Linked DNA regions of Homo sapiens: regions 2, 3 and 4 are each linked to region 1. The links are contacts of gene promoters, found by promoter capture Hi-C in human tissues and cell types (Jung and others, 2019). All regions are on one chromosome and are shown on one strand. The core of a region is centred on a gene start or on the middle of the fragment in contact, and the rest is flanking DNA. Distances in the headings are between cores, read along the strand shown. Region 1 holds the start of AKAP7 (A-kinase anchoring protein 7). Region 2 has its middle 45 kb from the start of ARG1. Region 3 has its middle 77 kb from the start of ARG1. Region 4 overlaps EPB41L2 (erythrocyte membrane protein band 4.1 like 2).

The links. The method cuts DNA at HindIII sites, captures the fragments that hold promoters and counts their contacts. A contact is called where the count stands out against the background at its distance.
Region 2: a fragment that was not itself captured here is called in contact with the fragment with the promoter of AKAP7 in region 1 in 2 of the 25 tissues and cell types used here (H1 embryonic stem cells and mesendoderm cells).
Region 3: a fragment that was not itself captured here is called in contact with the fragment with the promoter of AKAP7 in region 1 in 4 of the 25 tissues and cell types used here (H1 embryonic stem cells, liver, lymphoblastoid cells and 1 more).
Region 4: a contact is called between a fragment that was not itself captured here and the fragment with the promoter of AKAP7 in region 1, in 3 of the 25 tissues and cell types used here (aorta, dorsolateral prefrontal cortex and mesendoderm cells).

The regions. Positions count from the first base shown.
Region 1 is chr6:131,134,045-131,136,716 of GRCh38, forward strand. AKAP7 (A-kinase anchoring protein 7) reads left to right here and starts at 1,423. Exons shown (of 8, transcript NM_016377.4): 1 at 1,423-1,738. The coding sequence starts at 1,720. RefSeq lists enhancers at 1,054-1,554, 1,991-2,050 and silencers at 1,381-1,470, 1,621-1,730. The HindIII fragment of the contact is 8,304 bases long and covers 79-2,672 here.
Region 2 is chr6:131,526,861-131,529,532 of GRCh38, forward strand. No RefSeq gene overlaps it. Among named protein-coding and RNA genes, the nearest start is that of ARG1, 45 kb to the right of the region's middle. The HindIII fragment of the contact is 4,189 bases long and covers 1-2,672 here.
Region 3 is chr6:131,494,883-131,497,554 of GRCh38, forward strand. No RefSeq gene overlaps it. Among named protein-coding and RNA genes, the nearest start is that of ARG1, 77 kb to the right of the region's middle. The HindIII fragment of the contact is 4,110 bases long and covers 1-2,672 here.
Region 4 is chr6:130,845,040-130,847,711 of GRCh38, forward strand. The region is part of intron 19 of EPB41L2 (erythrocyte membrane protein band 4.1 like 2); the gene reads right to left. Among named protein-coding and RNA genes, the nearest start is that of SMLR1, 19 kb to the left of the region's middle. The HindIII fragment of the contact is 3,170 bases long and covers 1-2,672 here.

The DNA of each region.
Region 1 (2,672 bases), core at 173-2,672:
CACTGCAACCTCCACCTCCTGGGCTCCAGCGATCCTCCCACCTCAGCCTCTGGAGTAGCTGGGATTACAGGCATGGGTCACCACGTCTGGTTAATTTTTGTATTTTTGGTAGAGACAGGGTTTTGCTATGTTGCCCAGGCTGGTTTCAAACTCCTGGACTCAAGTGATCCACTCGCCTTGACCTCCCAAAGTGTTGGGGTTACAAGCGTGAGCCACTGGGCCCGGCCTGGTAAAGCTTTAAAAATAAAAATTTATGTCACCTTTACGAAGGGAAATTTATGTCCTGCTTTTAGGCAGAAAGGGGGAGGTCAAAGTTGTTCCTGAGTCTTTAGTTTCTGAACTGTTTTAAGCTCAAGAATAATCCTTATGCTGAAGTGGCATATTTGGGGTGGCATATTCTCATCCTCTTCACTATGAATGTGGACCACATTTTTGCAGCTTTTATTTCCGCAGTTACTTATGTTTCTTTCTCTGCTATTATATGATCAGCTCCATAAGTAAAAGACCTGTCTTACCTGCACATCCTCAGCACAGAGCTCAAGCATTAAATAAATATTAGGGGAACTGGTTGTACTTTCCTACCAGCCCATAAATGGGCATCAGAAACTCAACGTGTTAGAATTATTTGAAAATCAGAGTAACTAGTTTGCCGACTTCTAGTGTGCAGCCTTTACGCCAGCTGTTGTGGCTGTGTAGGGGTCTTCTTTTCTTCCATCCCTATTCTACGATGCATTCAACATAAGCGAAGTGTTATTATTCACGAAAGGCGCTAATTTGTGGACGGATGCACCTAATGTTCTTAACCCCTGGTTTCTTCGCACTAAAACCAATCCCAATAGCATTCCGTTTCAAGTGAAAGGTTTTTATTTTTTTAAACTAAGTAAATTTCTTTTTCTCCCAATTTACTCACTGCAGTACCTTATACTACAAGAACCAGCAACTGGTTTCCTCTTAATGTCTAAACATAACATCATTGTTAAAAATTAGAGACTTTGTCACAATTTGCAGTTTTTAAAAGTAAGGTAAATAAAGTATCTCATTATACAGAAGTACAAGGTCTCGTTCTTGTACATTTCGCTCTTCCCAAATATTCTGCAATCAGAACCCTGATTGCAAAACTAAGCACATGGATTCTCAAAAGACACCAGGCCAGAGAATTCTTTCATCCTAGTCCCAATCTCGCCCTTGAAAGCGTGGGAGGGGCAAGGCTGCGCCACGGGAAATAAATGAGGGCTGCCAAAGGCCGTCGGAGGCCGCGGGGCTCGGCAGGCAGGCGAAGACCCAGCGTCGCATTGCAGAGTCGAGACGACCTGGGCTGCCGTGACGCCGCAGTCGCCGGCCCTAGTTTCCCCCGCCCTGCCCGAGCGCGTCCGCGCCTCTCGCCCGAATCCGGGTACCACCGGCGACTCGGGTCGGCCCCTTCTGGCTTGTTCCGGCGTCCGGCCTGGCATGCGGGTGCTGCGGCTGCTGCGGCTGCCGCCGCCGCTGCTGCCGCTGCCGCGGGGGCTGCGGCTTGGGAAGCTCCGCGCTTCCGCAGGCCTGGCCTCCGCCGCCCGGGCCCCCGCAGCCTGTCGCTGGACCCCGCGCCGGCCCAGCGCACCGCCCTCAGGCCCCGAGCCCCGCCCTGGCCTCCGCCTCGGCCTCGCCTCCAGCCCCGGGACGCGGCCCGCCACCGCCGCTGCCGCCAGCCCAGACGCGCCGCCCGCATGCGCCGCGACCATGGAGCGCCCCGAAGCGGGTGAGACCGGGCTGTCCAGCGGGCCGGGGCGGGGGCGACAGGAGCCGCGGGGGCCTGGGCCTGCTCTGCGCTCGAACTTTGGGAGGGCCTGACCCGCGCCGGCCCTTCTCCGAGTCTCCCTCCTTCCCAAAAGGACTCAGGGTAGCACCGAGAAGCCCGGTGCAACCGGGGTGTACATCAGTGCTGCCTGTAGCGAAGCGTTTTAATGCACGCATTGTGGGTCCGACAGGAGGCGGGGGTATGAGCCCATCCCCGAGTTTCACTTTTCTTTCTCCCTTTCTCATCCTGTGACCCTTTGCACAAAGTTCATGCCAGTACACATTCCTTCCGACGGTGTTGATGTGGGTAAATGTAAACAAAACCTAGTAAAATTTCGATTTTATCTTATATCACAAATATTAAGCACCCGAACCACCATACTGTCTCATTTAGGATTTTCTGCCAGGTTTGGACATGACCGCTTTTAAAACTGGCGCCAAGTCTACACTAGCGCCCGGAATGAATTTCCAGTTTAGGTCAGCGTTTGTTGTGAACTGAACTTTGTGATAGAGCGAGTTAGGGGTGGACTTTCGGTAAAAGGGTCCGCAAACCAATTAGAGAAAAGGTGCTCCTCTGCAAGAGTTTCATAGGATAAACTCATAGAAGAGTATAAAAAGCATAAAAACGTTAAAGTGTACTATATAAATAGCAGTTAATCGTGTGAATATGTTGACAATTGTTAAGTGAATGATGACAGTGAGTTTTTGCATTTAGGAAATGCATGGGAATGGAAATTGTTAAGGAGAAAAGAGCCATACTCCAGTTCCTTGTTTAAGTGCCGTGGCTTTGCAATTCAGGATCCTGTTAGCATATCTGTATATTTTCCTTACTCATAAAGTTTAAGATGTTTGTGGAGGTTACTTCCTCCTTTCATCCATTTTCGGACACTATTAAC
Region 2 (2,672 bases), core at 79-2,578, 390 kb after region 1:
TCATTCTAACTTGTATGAGATGGTATCTCATTGTGGTTTTGATTTGCATTTCTCTGATGACCAATGATGATGAGCATTTTTTCATGTGTCTGTTGGCTGCATAAATTTCTTTTGAGAATTGTGTGCTCATATCCTTTGCCCACTTTTTGATGGGATTGTTTGTTTTTTTCTTGTAAATTTGTTTGAGTTCTTTGTAGATTCTGGATATTAGCCCTTTGTCAGATGAGTAGATTGCAAAAATTTTCTCTCATTCTGTAGGTTGCCTGTTTACTCTGATGGTAGTTTCTTTTGCCATGCCGAAGCTCTTTAGTTTAATTAGATCCCATTTGTCTATTTTGGCTTTTGTTGCCATGCTTTTGGTGTTTTAGTCATGAAGTCCTTGCCCATGCCTATGTCCTGAATGGTATTGCCTAGGTTTTCTTCTATAGTTTTTATGGTTTTAGGTCTAACATTTAAGTCTTTAATCCATCTTGAGTTAATTTTTGTATAAGGTGTAAGGAAGGGATCTAGTTTCAGCTTTCTACATATGGCTAGCCAGTTTTCCCAGCACCATTTATTAAATAGGGAATCCTTTCCACATTGCTTGTTTTTGTCAGGTTTGTCAAAGATCAGATGATTGTAGATGTGTGGTGTTATTTCTGAGGCCTCTGTTCTGTTCCATTGGTCTATATCTCTGTTTTGGTACCAGTATCATGCTGTTTTGGTTACTGCAGCCTTGTAGTATAGCTTGAAGTCAGGTAGCATGATGCCTCCAGCTTTGTTCTTTTGGCTTAGGATTGCCTTGGCAATGTGGGCTCTTTTTTGGTTCCATATGAACTTTAAATAGTTTTTTCCAATTCTGTGAAGAAAGTCATTGGTAGCTTGATGGGGATGGCATTGAATCTATAAATTATCTTGGGTAGTATGGCCATTTTCACAATATTGATTCTTCCTATCCATGAGCATGAAATATTCTTCCATTTGTTTGTGTCCTCTTTTATTTCATTGAGCAGTGGTTTGTAGTTCTCCTTGAAGAGGTTCTTCACTTCCCTTGTAAGTTGGATTCCTAGGTATTTTATTCTCTTTGAAGCAATTGTGAATGGGAGTTCACTCATGATTTGGCTCTCTGTCTGGTATTGGTATATAGGAATGCTTGTGAGTTTTTGCAGATTGATTTTGTATCCTGAGACTGCTGAAGCTGCTTATCAGCTGAAGGAGATTTTGGGCTGAGACGATGGGGTTTTCTAAATATACAATCATGTCATCTGCAAACAGGGACAATTTGACTTCCTCTTTCCTAATTGAATGCGCTTTATTTCTTTCTCTTGCCTGATTGCCTTGGCCAGAACTTCCAACACTATGTTAAATAGGAGTGGTGAAAGAGGGCATCCTTATCTTGTGCCAGTTTTCAAAGGGTATGCTTCCAGTTTTTGTCCATTCAGTATGACATTGGCTGTGGATTTGTCATAAATAACTCTTATTATTTTGAGATACGTTCCATCAATACCTAGTTTATTGAGAGTTTTTAGCATGAAGAGCTGTTGAATTTTGTCGAAGGCCTTTTCTGCATCTATCGAGATAATCATGTGGTTTTTGTCATTGGTTCTGTTTATCTGATGGAATACATTTATTGATTTGTGTATGTTGAACCAGCCTTGCATCCCAGGGATGAAGCAAGTTTGATCGTGGTGGATAAATTTTTTGATATGCTGCTGGATTTGGTTTGCCAGTATTTTATTGAGGATTTTTGCATCGATGTTCATCAGGGATATTGGTCTAAAATTCTCTTTTTTTGTTGTGTCTCTGTCAGACTTTGGTATCAGGATGATACTGGCCTCATAAAATGAGTTAGGGAGGATTCCCTCTTTTTCTATTGATTGGAATAGTTTCAGAAGAAATGGTAGCAGCTCCTCTTTGTACCTCTGGTAGAATTCGGCTGTGAATCCATCTGGTCCTGGATTTTTTTTGTTGGTAGGCTATTAATTATTGCCTCAATTTCAGAACTTGTTATTGGTCTATTCGGAGATTCAACTCTTCCTGGTTTAGTCTTGGGAGGGTGTATGTGTCGAGGAATTTATCCATTTCTTCTAGATTTTCTAGTTTATTTGCATAGAGGTGTTTATAGTATTCTCTGATGGTAGTTTGTATTTCTGCGGGAATGGTGGTGATATCCCCTTTATCATTTTTTTATTGTGTCTACTTGATTCTTCTCTCTTTTCTTCTTTAGTAGTCTTGATAGTGGTCTATCAATTTTGTTGATCTTTTAACAAAAAACCAGCTCCTGGATTCATTGATTTTTGAAGTTTTTTTTGTTTGTCTGTCTCCTTCAGTTCTGCTCTGATCTTAGTTATTTCTTGTCTTCTGCTAGCTTTTGAATGTGTTTGATCTTGCTTCTCTAGTTCTTTTAATTGTGATGTTAGGGTGTCAATTTTAGATCTTTCCTGCTTTCTCTTGTGGGCATTTAGTGCTATAAATTTCCCTCTACACACTGCTTTAAATGTGTCCCAGAAATTCTGGTACATTGTGTCTTTGTTCTCATTGGTTTCAAAGAACATCTTTATTTCTGCCTTCATTTTGTTATGTACGCAGTAGTAATTCAGGACCAGGTTGTTCAATTCCATGTAGTTGTGTGGTTTTGAGTGAGTTTCTTAATCCTGACTTCTAATTTGATTGCACTGTGGTCTGAGAGACAG
Region 3 (2,672 bases), core at 74-2,573, 360 kb after region 1:
GGGAACCTACCATATTGTATTTGCAATTCTTCTATAAATTAAAATTATTTTCAAGTAAAAAGTTTAAAAAAAAATAGGTCACAGGGTCAGCCTAGATTTAAGAAGAGGGGAAACAGGCTCTACCTTTTAATTGAAGAAATGACAAAGTTATATCGCAAAAGAGCATTTAGGATGGGAGAGATTGTTGCACTCATTCAGTGGGCTTCTAAAAGCTGCTCAGGAAATCGTAGCATGGCATAATTTGAGTTGTATGCATGTGTGCGTGTGTGTGTGTGTGTGCGCGTGTGTGTGTGTGTGTATGTGTGCATGTCTGATTTCACATGTTTATCCACCCGAATTTGACAATTTTCCTCTTTTACTTTTGAACCAGCTGTGTTCATGTGGCCATCCACTTTCCCTTGGATCACATTTTTTAGCATAATTGTGGATAAGACTAAGGAGTAGTCACTAACTTGTCTACTGTGTTGTGCTCACCTGAAACTGAGAATTAGTCCACTGAGTGCAATAAATAATCTACAGTGGAGAGTGATTTTTTCCCCCAAAGATCTGGGTCTCTAGGCTACACCCTCTAGAATGTAGATAAACTGCTGATCATCAGTATTTATTTTGTGAGCAAATAAATCACGAAATCCCCTTATATTTTAAAGCTTGACCGTGATAATTTGCAAGTCATTTGTAAATACCTTAGAACTCATTTACAACCACATTTTACTTTCTGCTTTGGCATTTCTTAACGTTCTAAATTCACTTTACACTCCTTTAACTTTCCGTCACCTCCCAGCATAGAGATACAGGATTTAGGAAGGAAGAGGAAGAAGCCTGGGATTACTGGGCATGAAAATTCTGACAAAATTGTTTAAGAAAGCACCATATTCATAGATGAAATTGATCTATGTTTTATTCTTATGTGCTATCTATATCAGATTTAGTATAAATATGTTAGTATTCTAAAATGAATTGGAAAGGTTTCTATCTTCTTATGTTCAGCAATGATTTAAATAACATAGGAGCTGTTTGTTCTTTGAAAATCAGAAGGGACCTACATATAAAATCACCTGGGTAGGGCACGTGTTTTAAAAGTAGATCTTTGATAATTTTCTTAAAGTTTTCCACTGGTTATTGGTCTATTCAGATTTTCTACTTATTCTTGAGAAATTTTTTAAAATTTATATTTCCCAGAAAATCAGCAATTTCATCTAGATCTTCACATTTGTTGGTAAAAAGTTATACAAATATTTTATTACAATCTTCCAAATCTGTCCCATTACTGCCTTTCTCATTGACTAAGTTAGACATTTTTGGTTTTTCTTTTTTCCCTGATTAATCTTAGCCATTCTTTGTATTTTTTTTTTTTTTGGAAGAAATAAGTCTGATTTTATTTAATAATTCTACTCTTTTATCTGCTTTCTAACTCACTAGCTTTGGCTATGTGAGTACTCTCAATTTACGAATAAGGCCCAGGAACTGAGACCCCTGAATAATAAATTTTCAGCATGGATATTATAGTTATCCAAACTGATGGCAGGACATGGTAGAGAAGAAGACTGTCAGGTGTGGAAGGGTCCATAAATGAATTTGGGAGAGGTGGGAATCTCTTTCACCTTATTAGGAGTGATATCCAAGGATAGTCCTTTTAAATGATTCCCCGCAGTATGATGAATAATTTAAAGATGGTTAGAGTAAGTCAAGCATAAAGGACAAAAAGCAATAAAAGGAGAACATTTCAGTGGTACTTAGGCAGATATACCCTGCTGCTGTCAAATTGTTTTAAAGCAATTTAGAGCTTTGTGAATTCTAGGGAAAAAATTACTTAGAAGGTTATGTTTCTAAATTCAGATTTATGAAATATCTTATTATTCAGTGATGCTTTTTTCCCAACCAGTACTGTGTGCTTCCCACATCACGCAATGGAATCTTTCCCTTCTTGAACAAAGACAGATTCCTGAGGGGCAGAAAGATGATTCCATGACACTGGAAAAGCAAACTAGTCTGCCATCATTTTTATAATTTGAAGAGAAAAAAATGAGACTGAATTAGAAATGTAGGGTTCTGTCCCAAGCTTCAAATTATTATAGAGAAGTAATTCCTTGATTTCAGGTTATTCTGAGATAATAATATATGTCTCACCAAAAATTTTAATGCAGAGCAAATACAATTTTTCTTGGTATTTCATGCAAGTCAGATAATGATGCATTTATATGTATTGTGCTCTCAGTCAGGTCCAACACTGTTAATTTCATTATTACCACCACCTTTAATTCCCTGGCCCCAAGGACAGGATACGCCACAGGCCTCTTAGATGGAAATTGTTCAAAAGCATTCTCATCCACACTATTCTTGTGTCTTCTCATGGGACTCTTAACTTCTTCAGTGGCCCTGTTTTTGCCTGCTCTGAGTCTCAACCGTGTTTGAGTCTCTGCCACCCCTTAGTTTTCATTTACAACCAAACAATCATCATCAATTCTTCCTTCAATGTCTTTTTAATTCCCACTGAACTATTCTCCTTCAGCCTCTCTTGTACTATCTTTTGTTTCAGGGGTGAGAGAACAAAGATTCATTGAGCTTCTATAATGTGTTGACAGGGTGGCAGATGTTGACTGCCCCCTCATCCCCATCTTGCTCTTTTTATGGGTCAACTTGGGCCACCATAGCAAGGTATCATAGCCTAGGTA
Region 4 (2,672 bases), core at 59-2,558, 290 kb before region 1:
AAATAAACAAATAAATAAATAAAATAAAAATCCCAGAGCCAAAAATGCAAGCATGCTAAATTTCCATTTGGTTAAACCCAGAAAAAAGTCAATTCTTAAAATGTCTGTATTACCATTAAAATATACACGAAGTGTAGCCTGCAGCCCCTGAGGACTGCTGAGTCTCTTTAAGGGGACCATAGAGTCAAAACTGTTTTCATTATCATACTAAGACATTATGTCCTTTTCAGTGTGTTGGCATTTTCACCAATGGTGTAAACAAATAATGGTGAGTAAATCTACTGGCAGCTCAGCCTACATAAGTCGAAGCAGAGGAATCAAACTATATTTGAGGTAACCTTATTCTTTTTTTTTTAGAGGCAGGGTCTTGCTCTGTCACCCAGGCTGGGGTGCAGTGGTGCAATCATAGCTCACTGCAGCCTTGAACTCCTGGACTCAAGGGATCCTCCTGCCTCAGCCTCCCAAGTAGCTAGGACTACAGGCACATACCATCACACCCAGCTAATTTTTAAAAAGTTTTTTGTGGACACAAGCTCTTGCTATACTGCCCAGTCTGGTCTCGAACTCCAGGCCTCAAGCAATCCTCTCACCTCAACCTCCCAACGTGTTCGGATTACAGGCGTGAGCCACCAGGCCTGGCCTGGCACCTTATTCTTTACCAGTGTGCACTTGCAGTAAAATAGAGAAGACAGTTTCACTTAAGGAAGTCCTTGAGGACACAGAAGAAATATTAATTTTCCTACATCTCAAGCCTGAGTGCATCTTTTTAATATTCTGTGTGATGAAATGGGAAGTATGCACACGCCATTCCCGCTGCATACAGAAGTACAACAATGTCTAGAGGAAAAGCATCTATGGGAATGTCTGAACTGTGAGTTGAAGCAGCTGCTTTTTCATCAACCACCTTTCTTACTTGAGAGAATCACTGACAGACAAGGGATGTTATTCAATTTGGATACTAGGTAAACCTTTTATTGAAAATGAAGTTGAGCCTGTCGCCTCAAGAGAAACAATTGACAGTACTTGTTGCCAATGATAAAATGCAAGCTTTTAGGTGAACATTAGAATTTGGAAAATGGTGTTTTGGCCACCATGAGCTTGATAGCTTCCCGATATTAAGACTCTTGAGGAGATCAGTGGCAGCGAATGACCCTTTTACTGTCTCCATCATTTTACCTTTTCCAGGATGTCATACAGTTTGATCATACAACATATATAGTCTTTCTAGACAGACTTCTTTCACTATGTGATGATTTTTAACTTAATAAATATTTATAAAACTTCTCAGTTTTGACTTATGATAAATTTCAATAGATACAATTCACATGAACAAAATCTCTTTGGGCCTTCAATAATTTTTAGGTGTATAAAGTGGTCCTGAGACCATTCAGTTTGAGAACTGCTTATGTCCAATCTGCTATCACTAAACTACTGCCGTTTTCTTCTGTCACAGATATTTGTGTATCTGCTGAGTACAGGGAGAAATTAAATCCAGTGTTTTTCTCTGCAGTCAAATGAAGCACAGTATCTGTTCTACAAATAATTCAGCAAAATGCTTTTGCTTTTCCTGGTTTGCTGGAACATGTTCATGCTGTTTGGAGACCCCACCTTCTTAGGAGGCTCTTCTGTGGGTCCTTTAAGGCCCAAGTCCCATCTTCAGGCCTTTTGGGACTGGGTTGACCTTCCTGAGCCCTGTGTCCTCTGAATGAACTGTATTACTCTCAAAGGCCTACATGCTAATATAACTTTACTTCAAATAGTAATAAAGATACTGAGCTTCATCTGACTGAAAAGCAAAAAAATATCGGATTTAACTTTTATAGATGTTCCTATGATATTTTACTCCTGGCTTTGCTTCCAAGTTAAATTCAATCTTACTCTTAGAGATGTCCAGTTCAGTATCCCCATTACTAACTGTCTGAACCAGTATCTTGATTTCTTTACAGGGTACTTCATCTAATCTAGAAGCTTTTCAGTCAATCATACACACTACTGATAAATTCATATTACTAAAGGACATGGCATGTAAGACCATCTGCAATTTGCCTTCAACAAATGTTTCCAGCTGTGCTGAGAACTCTATACATAACCACGATGGAGGTTTGCTTTTCCCGACATCCTTCCCATTGTTTTCCCATGTGCTCTTTCTTCCCTCCCCAATCTCCAACTATCCAGATTGCCCTTGGTGCTTTGCACAGAGGAGCTTTCCTGCAACCTTTCTGGAGAGCTTTGTCTTGTTTGGCCAATCAGAAGCATTTCTCCTGTCAACTTCCACAGCCCTTTATCTAGGCTTCTCTTCAAATATACTATTTTTGTGCCCTGAACATTATTTTTATGCATGTTCCTATGCCTTCCCCTCTCACACACAACTATAATAGTCCCTTGAACATAACAGGCTCATAATATAGATTAATGAATCCAGAAGTGAAAGTATCAGGGACTAATTTGTAACGTAAGACTGAAGAATAAGAGCTTGAGGAAACGGCAGGGAAAAAAAACAACAGAATTGCATTATATCTTTAGGAAGAAGCACTAATTCCCATGTTTACCATTACTCTCATCTGCCAATTTTCTTGTTTAAGTAGAAAAACATCAGGTTCATTTTTCTGTTCTCTTTTGTTGATTAACTATATCTATGATATCCCATGAGGACTCTTACTTCTTTAAAAAAC